Linked DNA regions of Homo sapiens: all the other regions are linked to region 2. The links are contacts of gene promoters, found by promoter capture Hi-C in blood cells and fetal thymus (Javierre and others, 2016). All regions are on one chromosome and are shown on one strand. Each heading gives the region's core, a stretch centred on a gene start or on the middle of the fragment in contact. The rest is flanking DNA. Distances are from core to core; before and after follow the strand shown.

The links. The method cuts DNA at HindIII sites, captures the fragments that hold promoters and counts their contacts. A CHiCAGO score of 5 or more calls a contact.
Region 1: a contact is called between a fragment that was not itself captured here and the fragment with the promoter of EPAS1 in region 2, in 5 of 17 cell types (M1 macrophages, endothelial precursors, M2 macrophages and 2 more). The highest score is 10.6, in M1 macrophages.
Region 3: a contact is called between a fragment that was not itself captured here and the fragment with the promoter of EPAS1 in region 2, in 1 of 17 cell types (neutrophils). The highest score is 7.1, in neutrophils.
Region 4: a contact is called between a fragment that was not itself captured here and the fragment with the promoter of EPAS1 in region 2, in 3 of 17 cell types (endothelial precursors, M1 macrophages and M2 macrophages). The highest score is 9.8, in endothelial precursors.
Region 5: the fragment with the promoter of RHOQ-AS1 here is called in contact with the fragment with the promoter of EPAS1 in region 2 in 2 of 17 cell types (neutrophils and naive CD8 T cells); the score reaches 8.4 in neutrophils.

The regions. Positions count from the first base shown.
Region 1 is chr2:45,998,388-46,002,294 of GRCh38, reverse strand. It overlaps PRKCE (protein kinase C epsilon), which reads right to left. Exons shown (of 15, transcript NM_005400.3): 7 at 749-891. Among named protein-coding and RNA genes, the nearest start is that of EPAS1, 300 kb to the left of the region's middle. The HindIII fragment of the contact is 288 bases long and covers 2,395-2,682 here.
Region 2 is chr2:46,296,120-46,299,966 of GRCh38, reverse strand. It overlaps EPAS1 (endothelial PAS domain protein 1), which reads right to left and starts at 2,560. Exons shown (of 16, transcript NM_001430.5): 1 at 2,030-2,560. The coding sequence starts at 2,055. RefSeq lists silencers at 1,967-2,296, 2,527-3,106. The HindIII fragment of the contact is 15,577 bases long and covers 1-3,847 here.
Region 3 is chr2:46,655,051-46,658,910 of GRCh38, reverse strand. No RefSeq gene overlaps it. Among named protein-coding and RNA genes, the nearest start is that of CRIPT, 40 kb to the right of the region's middle. The HindIII fragment of the contact is 2,972 bases long and covers 1-2,791 here.
Region 4 is chr2:46,024,446-46,028,609 of GRCh38, reverse strand. All of the region lies in intron 10 of PRKCE (protein kinase C epsilon), which reads right to left. Among named protein-coding and RNA genes, the nearest start is that of EPAS1, 270 kb to the left of the region's middle. The HindIII fragment of the contact is 4,201 bases long and covers 1-4,038 here.
Region 5 is chr2:46,577,780-46,581,631 of GRCh38, reverse strand. RHOQ-AS1 (RHOQ antisense RNA 1) reads left to right here and starts at 1,394. Exons shown (of 2, transcript NR_104182.1): 1 at 1,394-1,597. RHOQ (ras homolog family member Q) reads right to left here. Exons shown (of 5, transcript NM_012249.4): 5 at 1-704. The coding sequence ends at 549. It overlaps PIGF (phosphatidylinositol glycan anchor biosynthesis class F), which reads left to right. Exons shown (of 6, transcript NM_002643.4): 6 at 41-695. The coding sequence ends at 154. The HindIII fragment of the contact is 6,203 bases long and covers 1-3,852 here.

The sequences.
Region 1 (3,907 bases), core at 1,289-3,788, 300 kb after region 2:
GCCCTGTTAACATGGTTCTAATTTTCTCATAACTTACTTTTCAAAGACCTCTTAAATTTTCTAGGCTAGGAGCCAGGGCTAAAGAAGAGCCTACAAATGAAATGCTACGGATGCCTTTCCCCCTGTTTACATCTGTGGGCCCTGACTTACCAAAATAACATTTTGGCAAATGGATCTCTTCTTACTGATATTTAGAATGTCACAGAGATAGAGACAGTTTTGGTCTCCAAAGAATGGCCCAGATGTTTCATGTCGTGAGACATTAACAATATTCCCCAGGCAGCTCAGTGCTGGTATGATCACAAATCATCTTGGCTTCCTCCCTAGAAAAGAATGTGGTTCCAGTTCTTCACCCATTTATCTCCATTATAATGATACCAAGGGTGAAGTTCAGACACTGACATTGCTTTCATGCCAGTTCTGGAAGCAGATAAGTCCATTTCCTTGTATGGAGTTGTTAAGCTTTTTCTAGAAGGAATTTCAAATTCCTCATCTCAAAGTTTATGTTTCTTTGGCAAACGTAACCCTTGAGGCTTGCTGTGTTTTCAGTCCACTTTTGGAGCTCAAGAAGACATTAATGTTACCTGCCTGGCTTCTATCTTTGTTTTTTTCTTTAAGTACTGCAGTTCTGAGTAAAATACCTCAAACCCAGGAATCTTATTACCTCACTCCAGAGCACCCTCTGGAAGTCAGCACAGAAATGCTAGCCTGAAAAGGGCTCCAGCAACACCACCAAACAGCCAGTTACCTTTTTCCTTCTCTGGCCGCTGTTGGTGATTTTGTCTGGGGTAACGCCCAGGTCGGCCAGTACTTTGGCGATTCCTCTGGCATCCACTCCACAGTTGGGAGCCACGTTGGTCTCACATCGACGGTGAACATTCATTTTGCAGACTGTAAGGAGACATGGAGAAAAGACAGATAAGTGTTCATGGCCTAAGATGTTGCTTCTTTTCTTTGAGATTGTATTATATGTTCATGAAGTATTACATGTTCATTTAAGATATAATTTGGAAAATACAGAAATATATATATATATATATATGTCTTCCATCATACAAAACCAAAATCATTCATTAAACCACCTTGCAGAGATAACCACTGTTTCTAGTACTTCATTCCAGCCATCCTTTCTACGTATACCCTAAATATAGATAAGTAAGTAAATGTCACATTTATATTTCCCTCCAGGGACTGGGAATCTTTCAGATCTCCAGTCTGAATTCAATGAATTCCTTTGCTTTTCCCTCTTCACTTAGTTGTCCTTGGTGTAAGACATCACAGGTGAAAACAACCTGCTCATTGAAGTCTGGCACCTAAGGGGCTTAGAAGTCAGCAGCACTCCATTCTAACAAGCAAAACGCTGAACAAACTACAAAATCAACAGCTCTTCCGAGATCCACCAAGTGAAGTGAAGTCCTAGGGCAAACTGAAACTGCTGCTCCCAGAATTAGACAGCCAACCAGGCGAATACAGAGAATCGCAACTTACTGAAGCAGAAACCTCTGTAGGAACAATGCTGGGGTAGAAAAACTGTAACTGTAACCAACAAATGGGCTCAGAGCAGACAAGCCTGAGAGTCAAAAACTCTAAGGGGGACCCAGTCGTTGAGTTGATAGACTTTTGTACATTCAGTTGAGAGTCGTGCTCTTCAGGAGCTCAACTAGATTCTCATAGTAAATATGGAGAAAATCTCAGGATTTCAGTGTGGGGGTTGGGGGTGGGGAACGTGGGGAGAGAACCATTTTTTAAAATAGCCCAGAGCACTCTGCTCTTCTTAACGAGGGCTTCTCTTAGGAGAAACTATTTTATCAGAGGTTGAGGGTTGTTTTTTTTTTTTATCAGAGATTGAGGTTTTATCAGACCCCGACTGATCTGGGGACAAGGAAATCCCCAACTCCAGCCCACTCTAGCCATCCTGTCCTATCTAAGGCCAGGGGAGGACTGAACAGCACTTGTGAGGTTCACAGCTCAAAGGCACAAATTCATGAAAACACCCTAATCACAGCTCTATGTAATTCTTTCCCTCCCTCCACACGTTACTCACATTACTAACAGCCTGTTTACTGACAGTTCCTTTTACCCGGTATATAATGTCTGGCAAGAAAAAACTGTAAGGCATCCTAAAAGGCAAAGAAAAAAAAAAACAAAAAAACCCCAAAAAACCAGTTTGAAGTGACAAGGCAAACATCAGAACTAGACTCAGATATAGCAGGGATGCTGGAATTATCTGACTGGGAATTTAAAACAACTATGATTAATATGCTAAGGGTTCTAATGGATAATGTACACAGCATGTAAGAACAAATGGGCAGTATAAGCAGAGAGATGGAAATGCTAAGAAAGAATCAGAAGAACTGCTAGAGATCAAAAACACTAACAGAAATGAAGAAAGCTTCTGATGGGCTTATTAGTAGTCTAGACATGGCTGAAGAAACAATCTCTGAGCTTCAGGATATATCCATAGCAGCTTCAAAAATGAAAAAATAAAGAGAACAAAGACTGGAAAAAATATCCAAGGATTGGGTGATAACTACAAAAAGTGTAACATATGCAAAAAGAGACTACCACTACGAGAAGAAAGAGAAAGGAACAGAAAAAAATATTAATATTTGATACAATGAGGACAGAGAATTTCCCAAAATTAATGTCAGACACCAAACCAAACCACAGCTCCAGGAAGCTTGAAGAACACCACACAGGATAAATGCCAAAAAGAAACAAACAAACAAACCAACAAAAAACTATACCAAGGCATATAATTTCTAAACTACAGAAAATCAACTATTTAAAAAACGCTGAAAGAAGTCAAAGGAAAAAAAAAAGTTTTACCTATAAAGGAGGAAAAATAAGAATTACATCCAACCTCTCCTCAGAAACCATGCCATCAAGAAGTTAAATATTCAAAATGTTGAGATAAAAACCCCACCACCCTAGAATTCTCTACCCTGCAATATTATCCTTCAAAAGTGAAGGAGAAATTAAAACTTCCTCAGACAAACAAAAATGGAAGGAATTTATGGGCAGTGATCTGCCTTGTAAGAAATGTTAAAAGTAGTTCTTCAGAGAGAAGACAAATGATACAGCTCAGAAACTTGGATCTACATGAAAAAGAGAGCAGGTAAAGAAAGGTGAAGAAATAAGTGGAGGTAAAATAAAAACTTTTATTTTTATTCTTAATTAATTTAACAGCTAATGGTTTGCCCAAAATCATAATATTAGTAATGTGCTGATTATGTGTAATTATAGTATTTCATATATGCTAGGTATGCTTATGTGTAAGTGAAATAAATGATAGTAATGAGACAAGGATGGCAGGGAGGAATTAGGATAATTTTGTTATTATAAGGTACTTGTACTGTCATGAAGCAGCACAATATTATTTGAAAGTAGATTTGGATTTGTTGTAAATGCATACTGCAAACTCCACAGCAAGCACTAAAATAAGTAAAAAAGAAAGTATAAATGATACGCTAAGAAAGGAGAGAAACAATACGAACATATTAAATGCTCAATTAAAACCACAAAAGGCAGAAAATGAGTGGAAGACAAACATAGAAACAAAGAATAAGGGCAACAAATAGAAAACAGTACTAACTATAGTAGATATTAACCCAAGTATGTCAATAATCAATAATCATTGACTTCAAATGTCAATAGTCTAAATATACCAATTAAAAGACAGATTGTTAGAGTGGATCAAAAAAAACAAGACCCAACTAACTATATGTTGTTCACAAGAAACCCACCTTAAAGACACATACAGATTAAAAGTAAAGACATAGAGTAAGATATACCATGCTAACACTAAACCCAAAAAAGCAGAAAAGCTAAATTAATTTCAGACCCAGCAGACTTCAGAGCAAGGAAAGTTATTAGGGATAAAAAGGTCAATTCTCAAAAAAGACGT
Region 2 (3,847 bases), core at 1,311-3,810:
CGGAGCCGCAGCTCACACAGCGGCCTCCAAGGCGTTTCGCAGGCAGTCCCCACAGTGGTTCTTAAAGCGGCCGCTCTCGCCAATAATTGGGAGTCTAATTACGCAACGTTCTTCCCGCTCCCATTCCCGCTTCTTCTCTCTTTCCAACAGTCCGCTAACGAACCAGGTACTGTAGCTGGGTGTGTCGAAATCATTTTTCCCCTGCTCCCAAGTTTCTCGGTATATACGGTACAAAACTGCACAAAACCCGGCGCTAAGGAGCGCAGGAGGAGCTGACACTTCACACATTTGTCAAGATTACTGTCAGGCCCCACCTCGGCGATTGCCACATTCCCGATAGGCATCGCAGTTGTAAAATACACAAGTTCCCTCCCCGGCTCCGGACCCGAAAGCGTCTGCAGGCGCTGTCTATAACTTTGCTTTTCGATGGTTCAGTCATTATTAGCATTATGATTGGTTTTTACAAAACGCACTGGAATCTTAAGAGTCTTTTCCTTGCTCTGCTGCCTTCAAAAGACATGGAACCCCAGGACTGCTCCGAGGGCCCTGGGAATGTGCCGGCTGCAGTCTCAGGGCTCCCTCACTTGTCTTGGGTCTGAGGGCGCGACGGTGACGAGAAAGGGGGGACTACGGCCAGGAAAGGGGAGCAGGGCCCAATCCCCTCCCCTAGCGATCCCGCAGTGAAGGGCCCGGGCGCCGAGCCAGGACAGGCGCGATTCGCTCCCGTTTATCAAATCCTTATCGGTGCCCCGAGGTGGGAACCGCTGCTTTCGACCGGAGGATACACGGTTTCTGGCTCCAGTCCCGTAGTGGAAGTTGGAACAAGAGCAAATCAACCTCGGCAGTGAGCCCTCCCGGCCAGTCACCTCCCTCCCTTAGCGAGTCGGTCCTCCTCATCCTCGCACCTCTATACCGCCGCTCCGCCGCTGGTTTCCCGCGGCTCAGGCGGTTCAGCCGGCCGCGCGTTGGATTCCAGCTTCCCGCAGCATAGCCTCGCCAAGCCGCGGCCAAGCGCGGGGCTGGAAGCTCCAGGCCACTGGGGCCGCACGGGTGGAGACAGGAGGAGAAAGGGGACAGGCGGCGAGCCGCACACATTTGCAGAAGTTGAGGCCCTGCCTGCTTCTGCGCGGCCGCGCAGAGGGCTCGAACCCTCGCTCGGGTAGCGCCGGGCCCGGCTGGACTGGGAGCGGCCGGGAGAGGGCGAGAGGGCAGCAAGAAATGGCCAGAGTTGCCTCTCACCCAGTGCCGAGAGGCTCGCGAGGGCAGGCGGGCAGATCGTGGCTGCCCTTCTCTGTCCTCTTCGGAGACAGACACCCGGACCTGCCAGGGACATCCAGTGTTGCCGTCCGCTTCCTACACACCGAACCATCTGCCCCCGCAGGGCAATCCAGGTCACTCACTACCTACTCTCCCCAGAGTCAAGGTGCGGCACGAGGAAGTGGGTTCTCCAACCTTCGGTGGGGTCTGGAGCCCGGCAGCGGGGCGCTCTGAAGGGTCCTGGCTCCTCGGTAGGATCGTGTCCCTGAGCCGCTCTCCGCCTCCCGCCCCCCTTTGCCCACTTGGGCCGCGGCGCGGGCACAGGAGCGCATTTGGAAGGACTCCGCGAATCCAGAGAAAAATAGAGACGTGGATGCTGCCCCAAAATGAGAGACCAGAGAAAGTCGAGGACATGCACCCACAAACATTTCCAAGCGCCGGTGGCCACGGTAATCTGCTGCGGGGCGGCTGGGAGATTTTCAAAGGCACCGCGGAAGCACCTCCGACCTCCAGGCCATCTCCCTCGGCCTCCTGGCCTCGCCGTGCGCGCAAATCCCCGACTCCTCCGAGCCGCAGAAGTCTCCACTGCAAAGCTGCTGATCCGCGCCCCCAAACCGGGCACATGCTCTCCCCCTCACAGCCCTCCAAACCGAGCCTCGAGCTCCGAAGACCTCTCAGCACTCTTCTCCCAACCACTCTCGGTCGCGCCTGCCCCGCGCAGCCCGGCCCTGGCCTCGGACCGGCCCCCTGATCGGCCCGGACGCCCGCTTACCTTTTCTTCTCCTTGTCAGCTGTCATTGTCGCTGTGGCCCTTTGAGACGTTCAGACGCCGAGCACCTGGGCTCCCTGGCGGGTGGGGGGCTGTGGCCCTCGTCCGCTCCCCGCGGCCCGGGCGGGTGGTGAAGGTCCGAGGTGCGCGCAGGTCCCGAGCGCCCCGCGCAGTCAGGTGGAAGGTGGCGCGCGGCGGGCTAGGTGCGGGGGCGGGGGTGGAGAAAGGTGACTGGGAGGAACCTGCGCGCGGAGGCGGGGTCCGGGGAAGGAGTGGGTGGAGGCTGTCAGACCCGAAAAGAGGACGGAGAGAAGGGAACCCAAGTTCCTTTTTCCCTGGAAAAGGAGTCACTTTTCTGAGTTTTCAAAGAAAAAAAAAAGTGGCTCGAATGCTGGGAGTCGGAAGGAGTCGGAGGCCGGGCTGAGCTGACCATACAGTCTCAGGACACTGCCGAGGATTGTACGGCCGCCTCAGGAGCGCTGGGGCGGAAGCGCAGCGGGCACCGGACCCGTGTGGCGGTCCGCTCGCGAGTGTAAAGCTCCCGCGGCCGGCAGCCCACTTTAAAAACTCCGTCGGCCGGCTTGGGGCGGGCACGGGGCGGGCGCGGAGGGCGGGGGGCGGGCACCGGCGCGGGTGTGTGGGCGGGCACGCGCCGGCAGGCCCCGCCCGCGCCGAGCTCCGGGCGGCTCACTGCGTCCCGGCCAATGGGGACGCGCGGCCGCAGCCTCTGCCCTGACCCTGGCCCGCCTCCTGCCCCCGCGCTGCGCCCCGCCTCCTGCCTCCGCACTTCGAGGACTTGTTTATGAGGTCGTCTGGGCGGCGGGTAGCGGGGTGGGACTCCGCGTCGGGGAGAGGCAGCCTGCGCAGGGCCGAGGGGCGGCCGGGAGCCGGGCTCCGGGATTGCTGCGGGGGACGGCAGTTGCGCCACAGCGTCGGTGTCCTCGTACCGGCGCCGTGCCCTTGGAACGAGGGCAGGACCGCGGGCAGCGCCGGGCCAGCGCGGAGCCCCTCCACGCTGCTGCGCTCCTGCGTCCCTGGCCCTCGGGCCAGGTGGGGATAATTTCTCGGCCCCCAGCGGCTGCGTTTCGGGCGTGGGCGATGCGCCCTTTTCGGTGGGACGCAGCTGACTTGACCGTCTGGGAGAAGCAGTGCAAGGAAATTGATCTAGGGCTGCGCCTACTCTTCCTTCCCTCTCCCAGCAGGGTGGTTGCTTACCGGCTTGTGCCAGGCGGTTTGGTTTTGGCGGGGATGCGGCAGAGGAGGCCCTTTGAGCCGCCCGAGGCCGGGGCGAGTTCAGAATTGGAGAAGTCAGTCTGGTTCCCCAGTGTGATCTTGGAGTGACAAGAGTTGGCCATGTGCCCTCAAGTCACTGCATCTCAGGCCTGCCCTCTCTGCCGCCAGGGTCGATGGAAGTCCTGGGAAACCCAAAGGCTACAGGTGTTGGAAATTTGTAGATTTAAGGGCTCACACAGGCAACGGTTAGCGCTCAGGGATTTTCCAGCGGCGCTTTTGACGCTGCCTTCCATCTCCGGGCCCAGTGCTCCCCTGCCCCGCGCTGAGCTGTCTCCCACTCGCTACCGGCGATGGGGAAGGGACATCTGGGGAGAGGACAGGGGACGCCCTTAGTTTTTGAAGGCTGTGGAAGGACCCATGAGTTTCACAGGTGTAACTTGAAGTTGGAAAGCGAGGGCCAAAGAACTGGTCTATATCTCTCCCTTTAGCCTCTTGCCACATTTTATACTAGAACGATCTACAGAAGCGATTTGAAGAGAAGGGTAGGTTTCAGCGCCATAATAAAAATGAACACGTGTTTTCCCCGTG
Region 3 (3,860 bases), core at 56-2,555, 360 kb before region 2:
CTGTCAGTGTTTCACTTTGGCCAAACCCACCAGGAAGCCAAGGATCAAGGGAGCTCCCTGGTGCAGTCCAGATGGGCCAGCCTCATGGGACACACGGCAGTATGGAGAAGCCTGGAGACGGAGCTGAAGGGGCAAATGGAAATTATTCAGCAGATGTATGTGGCAACATTGTAAAGGGTAAAGGAGTCATCAGCAGACATTTCAGCATCATGGTCGCCTCTGAAGGGTGACCTTCACGCTACCTTCGATAGCGGTGGTAATATTCTATGCCTTAAATTGAGTGGTGGGGCCGCAAGTGCTTATTTTATTCTTCTTCAGCAAGACACATATATTATTTACATTTATTTGCAGATAGAATCCATTTCATAGAATATTTTTAGCAAGTTAATATGGTAGTAACTAGGTAGGTGAGGTAAAATGAAAAGAGCATTCACTAGGCCTGGAGACAAAAGGTGGATGGAATCTAGGCTTTACCACTAAGTAGCTCAGATTAAGCAAATAAATAATCTTTGACGAACCCTGTCAGAGGCTGGGGAACCACTGTCCCTAGCCCCACCTGAAATTAAGTACTGTTGTATCAGCAGCCTTTTTGGGGCCTAATCCTCAACTGAAAGTCAAGATATAGTACTCTTCTCACATGGTTGCTATGATTAAATTAAAGTATATACAGTATATGAAATCATGTGCTACACTAACTGGTGCCTACTTACATATTTTTGCCTCTTCTCTATCCTACCTATGTCCTGTTGTGTATTTCTTTGCAAGTTCCTGTGCTCTGGCCAATCCAATCTCCCTGACCCCCGACCCTGTCCCACTTGGTGCTATATCCAGACAGAAGTTCATGCCCCAAGTCCTTCCCCAGCCTGGTCCTCCCACGTGTCCATCAGCCTGGCTCAAGCCCCACCCTTCCAGGGTGCTCAGCACAGTGTCTCTGTAGTCCTTTACAAACTAGATGTTAATAAAAATAGGAGTTAAGGTATCATCACACATGCTCTCACTGAATGCAACTGGGGCCGGGCGCAGTGGCTCACACCTGCAATCCCAACACTTTGGGAGGCCGAAGGTGGGTGGATCACCTGAGGTCAGGAGTTCGAGACTAGCCTGGCCAACATGGTGAAACCTGGTCTCTACTAAAAATACAAAAATTAGCCGGGCATGGTAGTGCATGCTGATAATCCCAGCTACTCGGGAGGCTGAGGCAGGAGAATTGCTTGAACCCGGGAGGCGGAGGTTGCAGTGAGCTGAGATCGCACCACTGCACTCCAGCCTGGGTGACAAGAGCAAAACTCCATCTAAAAAAAAAAAAAAAAAAAAAAAAAGCAATTGGGACTGTTGACCAGTTAACAGACAATGAAACACACCAGCCTTCAACATCTTATTTTAACTTAAAATGTACAAATATGTGCTTCTTGGCCACTGTTTTGATGAAAGACCCAGGCATTTTATTTGAGCATGAGCTTGTCATCATCTTTCTTGCATCATTCCAGTTTCTGTAAGTTGGAGCAAGAACATAGTCAAGTGTTCTTGTCAAGTCTGTGACCTTGAGAAGTGCAAGATCTTGCAACAGACCTGGTACCAGAAGGACTTTGTATTCCTAAGCACAGTGCTAACTGGAGTAGTGTCCTACAAATTTAGCTGAATTGCACAGAGCTTCTTGGATGGGGGCCGGAAGAGGATTGGGACAAGAACAAATAGGAGAAGCTGTAAGATATGGTGAGTGCCAAAGGAAACTCGTCTTAAATGATAACACTGCCTCTGGTGGTCAATCTCTAGATCAATAACTGGGCACAGTTTCACAGGTACCAAAGCCTTCCACCAGGTCTGTCCCTCTCATATTCAGTTGCTGAATCCTCTTTTCGGGTGTGTGTGTAGGGGCTGGGGTTTGGGAGGCTGGGGAGAAGAGGACAAGCATGGTGAGTGGGGCAGGCTTCACTTTCCCTCCTGAACTCAGCTTCCTTGGCATCTCTGTGCCATTCTTTGTCCACTCTTTGCTCCCAGGTCAGAATTCAGTTCTCAGCAATTTACAAAAGTCTTGACTTGGCCCTGGAATGCTGGCAAGCTCCAGCGGAATCAGAGACCTGAGCACAGTTCCCTAGGGCTGTTGAGGCTTCATGTGAGAGGCTTAGCAAATCCCAAGGAGAGAGTCAGTATACACACGTGCATATACATATGTGTGTATGTGTGAACAGGTATGTATGTGTGTGATTCTTCCCCCCACCTAAGCCAGGTGAGTAAAAACTGTAAATTGCAGGGATTAAAGAAATGCCCTTCCAGTTTATGGCCCCAGGAATTTCAAGGTGTGTACACGGAGGCTATAAATTATATTGTTTTTAATAAATATAATCTTATTTCCCCCACATGGACAAGGATCTCCCAGGGTGCAAGGGAGGCCAGGAAAGTCCAGCTTGTCTGGTGGGGATCAGTCCTTCCCATAGTGCAGCCAGCTATGGGGGGCATGCGGGCTGTGTAGGGAAAGACAGCCAGGTGGAGGCACGCTGGCTACAGTGGCTGCGGCAGAGGGTAGGCAGGGGTGGTGACATAGAAACCCAGGCCCCTTTAGCACTGTGTTTCTCATCCTCCTGTCCACCCACAGATCCTGATTTAGGAGAGCTGGAGAATGGCTGTGAAACTGCTGCCTGGCAGGAAAAAGGAAGGGAATTCCTGAAGTGCTCCTGATTAGCGCTCCCAGAGTGTTAGTCATTTATTTCTTGTTAGCATGACTTGGGTTCTTTAAAGATTTGGACTGGATGTGAAGAAGTCCCAAGGGCAATTACAGCCTGGGTTAAAAGCTTGTAGGAGTTAGGACCTTCTAGCACAGGCTCCTGACATTAAAGATGTTCAAACTATTGCCCAGAGAGGTCCACTGACTTGCCCCAGGTCACACAGCTCATTGGATGGCATGCTTCATGTTTTTTTTTTTTTTAAAGACTGAAACATTCAGAAAAGTTTCATTGATTTTTACACTAAATGAAGAGCAAATTTGTAACCGGTTTCTTTGTTGACTAGCTTTGGAACTTTGGGCAGTGATTTTTAAAAACTTATTATTTTTTTGTAGAGGCAGGCTGGTCTCAAACCCCTGGGCTCAAGCAATCCTCCTGCCTTGGCTTCCCAGAGTGCTGGGATTACAGGCGTGAGTCACCGTGCCCAGCCTGTGTAAGTGATTTAACCTCCATTTCCTCCTCTGTAAAATGGAGTAAATAACACCTCCCAAGATCATTGTGAGGATGCATAAGTTAACGTGTATGAGGCATCTATCTCAAGAACTCCAAGGACTCAATAAATGTTAGGTCTCCTTTCCTTCCCTCAGTATTCATTTTCTCCTCCCTGCCCTTTAAAATCACAGTTAACAAAAAATAAGTTCACAGCTGATTTCATAGGCAAGCTCACCTCAGTCCATATTGCAATGCAATGCAAATAGAGATGTCCTAGCCAGTCTGGGTAAGTCAGTGGCATAGTAAAAGGGATTGTGAGCAGGACGCTGAGAACAAGGGATGGGATTGGGTGGGGCGGGGATTGACTGAAGAGAAAAGGTCTCCAAAGGGAAGGTCGGAGGAGACTCTTACCAGTTATTAAAAAGATGTACTACAGAAGGACAGGCCTTGAGAGAGAGAAAGGGAGATGATAGTGACAGGACCAGAAGAGGAACTACTCAGATGCCATGGGTGGGAGTCCGATTAAGCAAGGAGGCCTGGGACGACTGTGGAGCCCACAGATCCCAGGAGCAAAACAAGCAGTCATTCAACTCCAGTCCCCCAAGGCAGACAGGTGAGCATCAAAGTGTGTGGGTTGCCTGGCGATGAAGCCCAAAGAAAGACACCTCCTTCCTCTGCAGCCATATGAGCTAAGGGAAGGATATGCCC
Region 4 (4,164 bases), core at 689-3,188, 270 kb after region 2:
TTACGTATGTGATGGCAGCAAGGAAAGCTGTTATTTTCAACCAGTGGTGGCAGGTGGGGAGGGCAGCACAGTGAGTGCTATGTCCCCTATAGAATATGCCAGAATCTAGAAAGAACACACACATCTACAGTTTAAAAGGTTCAATTTATAACATCACTTTATAGGTGAAAATGGAAAGATAACTATGGTTTTCATAATACAAACTGCCAAATGAAATGTTTGGCATCTTCTTAGTTATAAAACATGGTTTAAAAACATGTTGCAAAACACAAATGTTGTGGCAGTGAAGAAAGTTTACCCCCCAACTCAGAGCTGCTTGCTGAAAGAGTGAGGCTGGGCTAGGTTACTCTTTAAGAATCCCAACCTTCGGCCGGACGCGGTGGCTCACGCCTGTAATTCCAGCACTTTGGGAGGCTGAGACGGGCGGATCACTTGAGGTCAAGAGTTTGAGACCGGCCTGGCCAGCATGGCAAAACCCCGTCTCTACTAAAAACACAAAAGTCAGCCGGGTGCAGTGGTGGGAGCCTGTAATCCCAGCTACTCGGGAGGCTGAGGCAGGAGAATCACGTGAACCCGGGAGGCGGAGGCTGCAGTGAGCTAAGATCTTGCCACTGCACTCCAGTCTGGGCCACAGAGCCCGACTCCATCTCAAAAAAAAAAAAGAAAAAAAAGAATCCCAACCTTCAAGAGGGAGGTCCCCCAGGGTAGGTGGAAGGTGGGCCAGCAGTTCTGTAGATAACCCCCTGGTCTTGAGCCCCATCTTGGCCTTGGTCTTGGAAAGAGGATAGGGACTACGCTTCATTCTTCCAGCTAAATAGGCCATGGGACCAGTCACCACACTTCTTGTCCTTGAGACAGATCATACTGCCAAAAGAACAGGAAAATCGAAACTTTAGTGGCAAAAGAATGATACACAGAGGTAGTGCACAAGCTCAGTTTTTTGTTAAAGTTCGAATTTTTGGAGAGCATGTCATCATTTAAAATGCTAGTGCCTATGACAGTTTGGATGCTTTCATGTTCTTGTTCCCCTTCCCTGCCTTATTGTAAAATATACCTACGAATGAGAATATGTAAAATATGCATATGCATTTTAAAGATCAAATAAGACTCACTTTTAGCTGTGACCCACCTTGACAGATAGAACATGGTTGCTGGCCTTTGAAACCCCTTTAACTCTCTTTAATTGCAACCTCTCTCCCCATCCTCATTCAGTCCCTATTTGGACTTCCCTGGTAATCATGATCTTGTTTTTCTTTTCTTTTTCTTTCTTTTTTGAGATAGGGTCTCACTCTGATGCCCAGGATGAAGTACAAGTGGTACAATCATGCTTCACTGCAGCCTCAACCTCCTGGGCTCAACCTACCCTCCTACCTCAGCCTCCCGAATAGCTGGGACTACAGGTGTGTGCCACCATCCCTGGCTAATTCTTTTATTTATTTTTGAGACAGGGTCTTGCTCTGTTGCTCAGGCTGGAGTACAGTGGCATGATTATGGCTCACTGCAGCCTTGACTTCCTAGGCTCAAGCGATCCTCCCACCTTAGCCTCCAGAGTAGCTGGGACAACAGGCACACATCACCGTGCCAGGCTAATTTAAAACAATTTTTTGTAGAGACAGGGTCTCACTATGTTCCCAGGGCTCAAGCAATCCTCCTGCCTTGGCCTCCCAATGTTGGGACTACAGACATGAACCACCACACCCGGCCCCTTGCTTTTCTTTACAGTTTCATCACCCATGTGTTTCCTCCTAAGAATATTGTTTAGTCTCGCCTGTTTGGGGGTTTTATAGAAATGGAAATATGCTACATGTCTATTCTGGGACTTGCTTCTTTCCTTCTGTAGTCAGCTGTGTATCTTTTAAAATTACCAGCTCTTATGCCTCAGATCTCTGTGTTTAAGGGGTCTCATTTACTCTCTTATAAATCCCCTTCAAAAACATCCCTTAAACATCCCAAAAACATCCCTAAAATGTCATGACACAGCAAATCGACCAATTCATTCTGTTCTCTTGGATACAGGTTGTCAACCACATTTAGGAAAGCTGTGGCCAGTTCCTCACCTTTTCAACCTAAATATTTTCTTACATCAGAGTGACACTTTTGGTAGAATTAAAGATCAGAGAAATGCATTCAAACCTTCTGCATGATACCATCTTCCAAAAAGGTAACATTTCCACCACTACATTCTTAATGTTTCTGCATAGTCTTCTACGCTTCTTTCTGATTTTGTCTAACTGCCCATACTCCCGATTCTTGTCCTCCTCTACCCATGAAGTCTAAATGTCCCATTCTAGAGAATTGAGATTTTAGGTTTCACATCTTTACCTTAATCTTTGAACCATCCACATAGCTTTTATACCCTCTAACTTCGTATACTCTCCCCATGAATGCCTATGTGCTTAGACTGCGCTTTTTACTCCCATGATCCTGCAGACTGTTAGTACCATTTCCTACCAAGGAGAAAGGGGTATTTGAATATCTGCATTTCATGCTCAATAGTGTCTTCAAGATTTGAAAATTAACAATTAGCTCAAAGAGCTAAACAGAATCCCTCCTTCCTGGGATATGGATGCACAAGAATCATATCTATTGATCATTTTCAGCTTTTGGAAGGCCCCAGTTTGCTTCTGCCTATGGCGTCTACCAGGTACTGACTTCCAGTGTTTACCTAGTACCCAGGACACAGGCTCACTCTGGTTCCCATAGTGATGGGTCAGTTTGCCCTCCCAGAGATTAATGTGGTTTAAAGCAGCAGAGATCAACACTGGCCAGGGAGCTAAATGGATCTGAACTACACAAACATCCAGATCTGCCTTGGACAGGGCTTGCTCCTTTTCACACAATAACAACCCTACAAAGCCAATTTCCTTGAATCAGATGGGACCTTGCCACTGTGCTCCTGTGGGGTAGGTGGAACCCAGGGTTCTTATTCCTGTGACAAAGTCCCTTATGAGACAGCGAGAGAGTGACAGAGGGAGAGAGTGAGAGCAAGGGAGAGAGAGGGAGCACATGAGCGTGTATGTGACCCGGAAGGGGCACTTCAACGCTTGTGCCTCAGTTTCCTCCAATTTGTAGGAGTATACCTACTAGTCAGCCCACTCATCTCTTCCTCTGATTTTCATTCTCTGGTTCACCTATTAGCCTAACCTCCCTAGGTGGACCAGCAGTTCTTTGAACAAGGATTGTGTCTTTTTCTATCCCTGGAATACCTGATATTAAGTTGAAGACATACCGTACCAGGTACTAAAAAAAATACTGGTTGTCTAATGTATACTGAAGCAGAACACTTCGTCCCTGGCTGGGGGTGTGTGTTCCAGATGTCTTACGTTCCCTGGTACTGCTCCTGCACAGCTGTTTTTTAACACTTCAGGGTTCAGTTACTCTGCCTAGCACTGCTGCACCTCAGTCACCACGTCTGGCAATCCAAATGGATCTTGCCAACCCCGGGAGTTCTCTCGTGAATTCTTTTGTAAACATTTTATAATAGGAGTTAGCTTTTGCAAGGTCAACAATCACACCTACATTTGTTTTTTTTTACAGTCAAATTTTCGAGCTTTCTTTCAGTGGAGCCTACCTATACTTTGTGAAGTGTGTTTAATCTCTGAGTTATGTACATCAAAAGATACTTCCTAGATCTTTAAGAAGCTCTCCCAAGGGAATAAAACTCTGGGCAAATTGGATGGTAGAAGTATTTCACCATTCATGACAACGTGTTTCCTTTGGTTGTGTTGGTATGTTTTTAGTGTTAACACTGGTGAATCTAGAAAGTTTTCATAAACTGGGGCTTGATAAAGGAGGTTGGATTTAAACTCTTACCTGAAAAAGAAAAAAAAATACCAAAAACACATGGGGATAGGTTGGATAAATGGTGAAAGAAACACTGAGAACAAAAGTCATTTTCCCCATTCACTCTCATCCTTGGACACTTTACTGGACCTTCCACCCTCCTTCTGAAGTCCAGGGAAGGCCACAAACTTCTCAGGCCCAAATCTGTTAGCACCAGCAGGCTCAGCTCTAAGAGCCAGAGCCAGGTAATAAGCTTAGCTTCCTAGCAACCCGCACACAAGTGTTCCCGATAAAATGGATTACATACTGCTGATGAATCCCAGGTGAATATCATACTGACCCAACAAAGGAATTAATTTGTACCTCCTGCCACACTAAGGA
Region 5 (3,852 bases), core at 145-2,644, 280 kb before region 2:
AACATTTGTTCTTTTTTGATCTCATACATTCTCTCCTCAGGTATGGCCCATCTCCTGTACGCTTGGAGCGACCTTTGGCTACGTGGCTGGCCTTGTTATTTCACCACTCTGGATATACTGGAATAGAAAGCAACTTACATACAAGAACAATTAACTGGAGCAAAGGGAGATATTTCTTTGTGCAGATTCTGTAAGGGCTGGGCAGAAATGTGTATGGTCAAAGCCAAGCAGTTCCATTTACAGCTCTGTTTTTTACGTAGTTACAACATGATGTGATTGTAGCTTTTTAAACTATGAAACCCCTGAGAGATTGTACCTTCTAGTTGAAATAAAGTATTTATAATAGATTGTGGCTTCAGATGCTGCTTACTGCTTCTTAAACCTTTAAGGAACATTCTTAATACACTTTATAGAATTCTGAGGACAGGTTTTGTTTTCTTTCAAGTTTTGAACTGCTTCATTACCTATAAAAGGTCTGGGTATAGCTGTAGCATTTCATTTGCTTTCTGAGAGAAATGGACAGTTTCCTTGGCCACTGAAGATGTTTCTCACGTAATTAAACAACAGTTTATACATCTTGATCCTATTCTTTTTTTTACAGTGTGTTTCTTTGGAGTTAAAATGGCTATGATAGCCTCATCAAAAACAGTCTTCAATCCCTTCTGGGTTAAAGCTGAACATTCCACATAGCAGCATGCTCCTATCTGGGAGGGAGAAAAAAAATCACAAATATATAAGATCATGTTTATACAATTGGCATGACATAAACACATCATTATAAAGAAAATTATAAAATACAGCTATGCAAAAAGAATACATTCATCATCCATGTTCATAACCCCAGAGGGGATTTTAAAATACTAGTATATGTCCTTCCAGACTTTCTATGAAAAATTATTTCACTCACCACATATTTACTGGGTATCTACTATATGTCAAGCACTGTTTAGGTCCTGGGGATATGTCAGTGAACTGAACGAAAGAGCAGAGTCCCTGCTGTGTGGCGTCCACATGTGCTGACATCTGCTGGGTAAGAGGCACAGGGGAGGGAATACAGAGCAGATGGTTGCAAATGCTGTGGGGAAAAAGCAGAGTGAGGGAGGCGGGGAGTGCTGAGGACAATGGTAGTGGGGGTCCGGGGAGGCTTCTCAATGGGGAAGTTTGAGCAGTGAGGGATACCTAGGGGAAGAGCTCCAGGCAGATAGATCCTGATGCAGGAGCATGCCTGGAGCAGTCAAGGAACAAGATCACACTGAGGATGTGGTATTTGAGCAGAGACCTGAAAAGAGTGAAAGAATGAATCATGTCCATAGGGAAGAACATTCCAGGCAGAGGGAACAACAAAAGTACAAAGGTTCTCAGGTAGAACTTTGAGGGAACAACAAAGGAGACCAGGAGGCCTGGGGAACAATGAGTAAGGCAGAGAGGGAACAGAGGCTTGTAGGCCACTGTGCGGACTTTGGCGTTTAGTCTGAGCTGGGGACCCACTGGAGGATTCTGAGCAGAGCAGTGACATGATTGCGCTTACATTTTTAAGACTTACTCTGGCTGCTGTGTTGAGAACAGATGACCATGGGGCATAGACAGAAGCAGAAAGGTGAGTTGGAAGCTATTCCAGTAAAGCAGGCCAGAGATGGAGGAGGTCTGAACCAGGTGATAGAGGGAAGAGTTAGAAAAAAGTGTCTGGATTCTGGATATGTTCTGAAGGTATGTTGTGCCGAAGGCTAGATGTGTGGTATGGGAGAAAGAGCAAGGTCAAGTACGACTTCAGGGCTTTTTTTTTTTTTTGAGACAGTTTCACTCTTGTTGCCCAGGCTGGAGTACTATGGTTCGATCTTGGCTCATCACAACCTCTGCCTTCTGGGTTCAAGCGGTTCTGCCTCAGATTCCTGACTAGCTGGGATTACAGGCATGTGCCACCACACCCAGCTAATTTTGTATTAGTAGAGATGGGGTTTCTCCATGTTGGTCAGGGTGGTCTCCAACTCCCAACCTCAGGTAATTCTGCCCGCCTCGGGCTCCCAAAGTGCTGGGATTACAGGTGTGAGCCACTGCACCCAGCTGAGGGCTTCTGACCTGAGTAACTGGGAGGACAGGCTTGGAGGGTAAAAGAAGAATCATATCTTAGACATGTTAATTTTGAGATACTCAGCCATGTAGATGGACTTGTTGAGTAAACAGCTGGATAACCAAATTGAGAATTTAGGAAAGAGGTCCAGGCTGGAGATGGAAATCCAGGAATCTTTGGTTGTAGACTGTGCAAGCTACAAGACTGACAGAAGCTCATTTAGGCCTAGGGAGTGTAGCTATAGAAGAAGACATCCACAAAGCTGAGTGCTCATCACTGGGGCCCTCCAACCAGGGACCAAGGAGGTAAAGAGATGGAGCAGAGTCCAATGAGAGGGGAGAAAAACCAAGAGAGTCCAACTGAAGAAAGTTTCAGGAAGGACGCAACTGTGCCAAATGCTGATGAGTCTAGAAATGAGATCATACTGTTTTGCAACTACTTTTTTCCCTTTAGCTACATAATAAATATGAAATCTTAACAGATAGTATGAAGTTTTAATAGATGCAGGGAATTTTTGCCATTATAAACAATTCAGCATCTTTGTAGCTCTAAGTACGTCCCTAATAATTTACTTTTATTATTAAATATTATAAATGGACAAATTATAATTTTATATAAGGTACAAAGCAATATTTTCTCTCTATATATACATATACACACACACACACGAGTGAAATGATTAAATCAACATAATTAACATCTATCACCTTAAATACTTATCATTTTGTGTGGTGAGAACATTTAAAATTTACTCTTTTAGCAATTTGGAAATACGCAGTCCACCATTATTTATTTATTCATTTATTTTGAGACAGGGTCTCACTCTGTCATCCAGGCTGGAGTGCAATGGCACTATCTCGGCTCACTGCAACCTCCACCTCCTGGGCTCAAGTGATCCTCCTTCCTCAGCCCCCCAAGTAGCTGGGACTACAGGTATGCACCATCATGCTCAGCTAATTTTTTTTTTTTTTTTTTTTTTTTTTTTTTTTTTTTTGGTAGAGATGGGGTTTCACCATGTTGCCCAGGCTGGTCTCGAATTCCTGGGCTCAAACGATCCACCCACCTCAGCCTTCCAAGGTGCGGGGATTACAGGTGTGAGCCACCGTGCCCAGCACCACCATTATTAACTGTAGTTACCATGTTGTGCAGTGTTATCTCAAAAAATGTATTCCTCCTAACACTGTACACTTTGACCAACATCCTAATGATTTGCTTAGGATAAACTCTTACATATGGAATTGCTTGATCAAAAGTGTCCATGATTTTAAGGATTTTGCATACTGTCAAGACTGCTTTGATTCAATGACCAATAGTACAACAGAGTGTCCATTTTACTACACGGGTATTATAATTAATTTCTCATTTTTTGCCAATTCTATAGGTGCAAATTGAGCTTACATTTGACTACTAATAAGTTTGAACATATTTCCTATCTTCAATGGCAATCTGCATTTTGGGGGGTGAATTTTTCATTGTTAGCCCATTTTTCTATTGGTATCTGTGGCTGCTTCTGATTAACTCATATGCAAGAGGTTCCTGTATACTAAGGATGTTAACCCATTTTTCTGCCATCCATCTCAGGTTATATGACTTTTCATTTTATTTCTGGCATTTGATGTGGTATTAAGTTTTTATGCAGTGAAATCATTAATATTTTCATTTATGGCTTTTATCTTTATGACATTTAGAAATTCCTTCTCTCCCCAAGATTACAAAACTGAATACATGGAATTTCTGAAGTGATTTGTTAGTAAAGCCATTTATTTTTTGCTTTAGGAAAAACT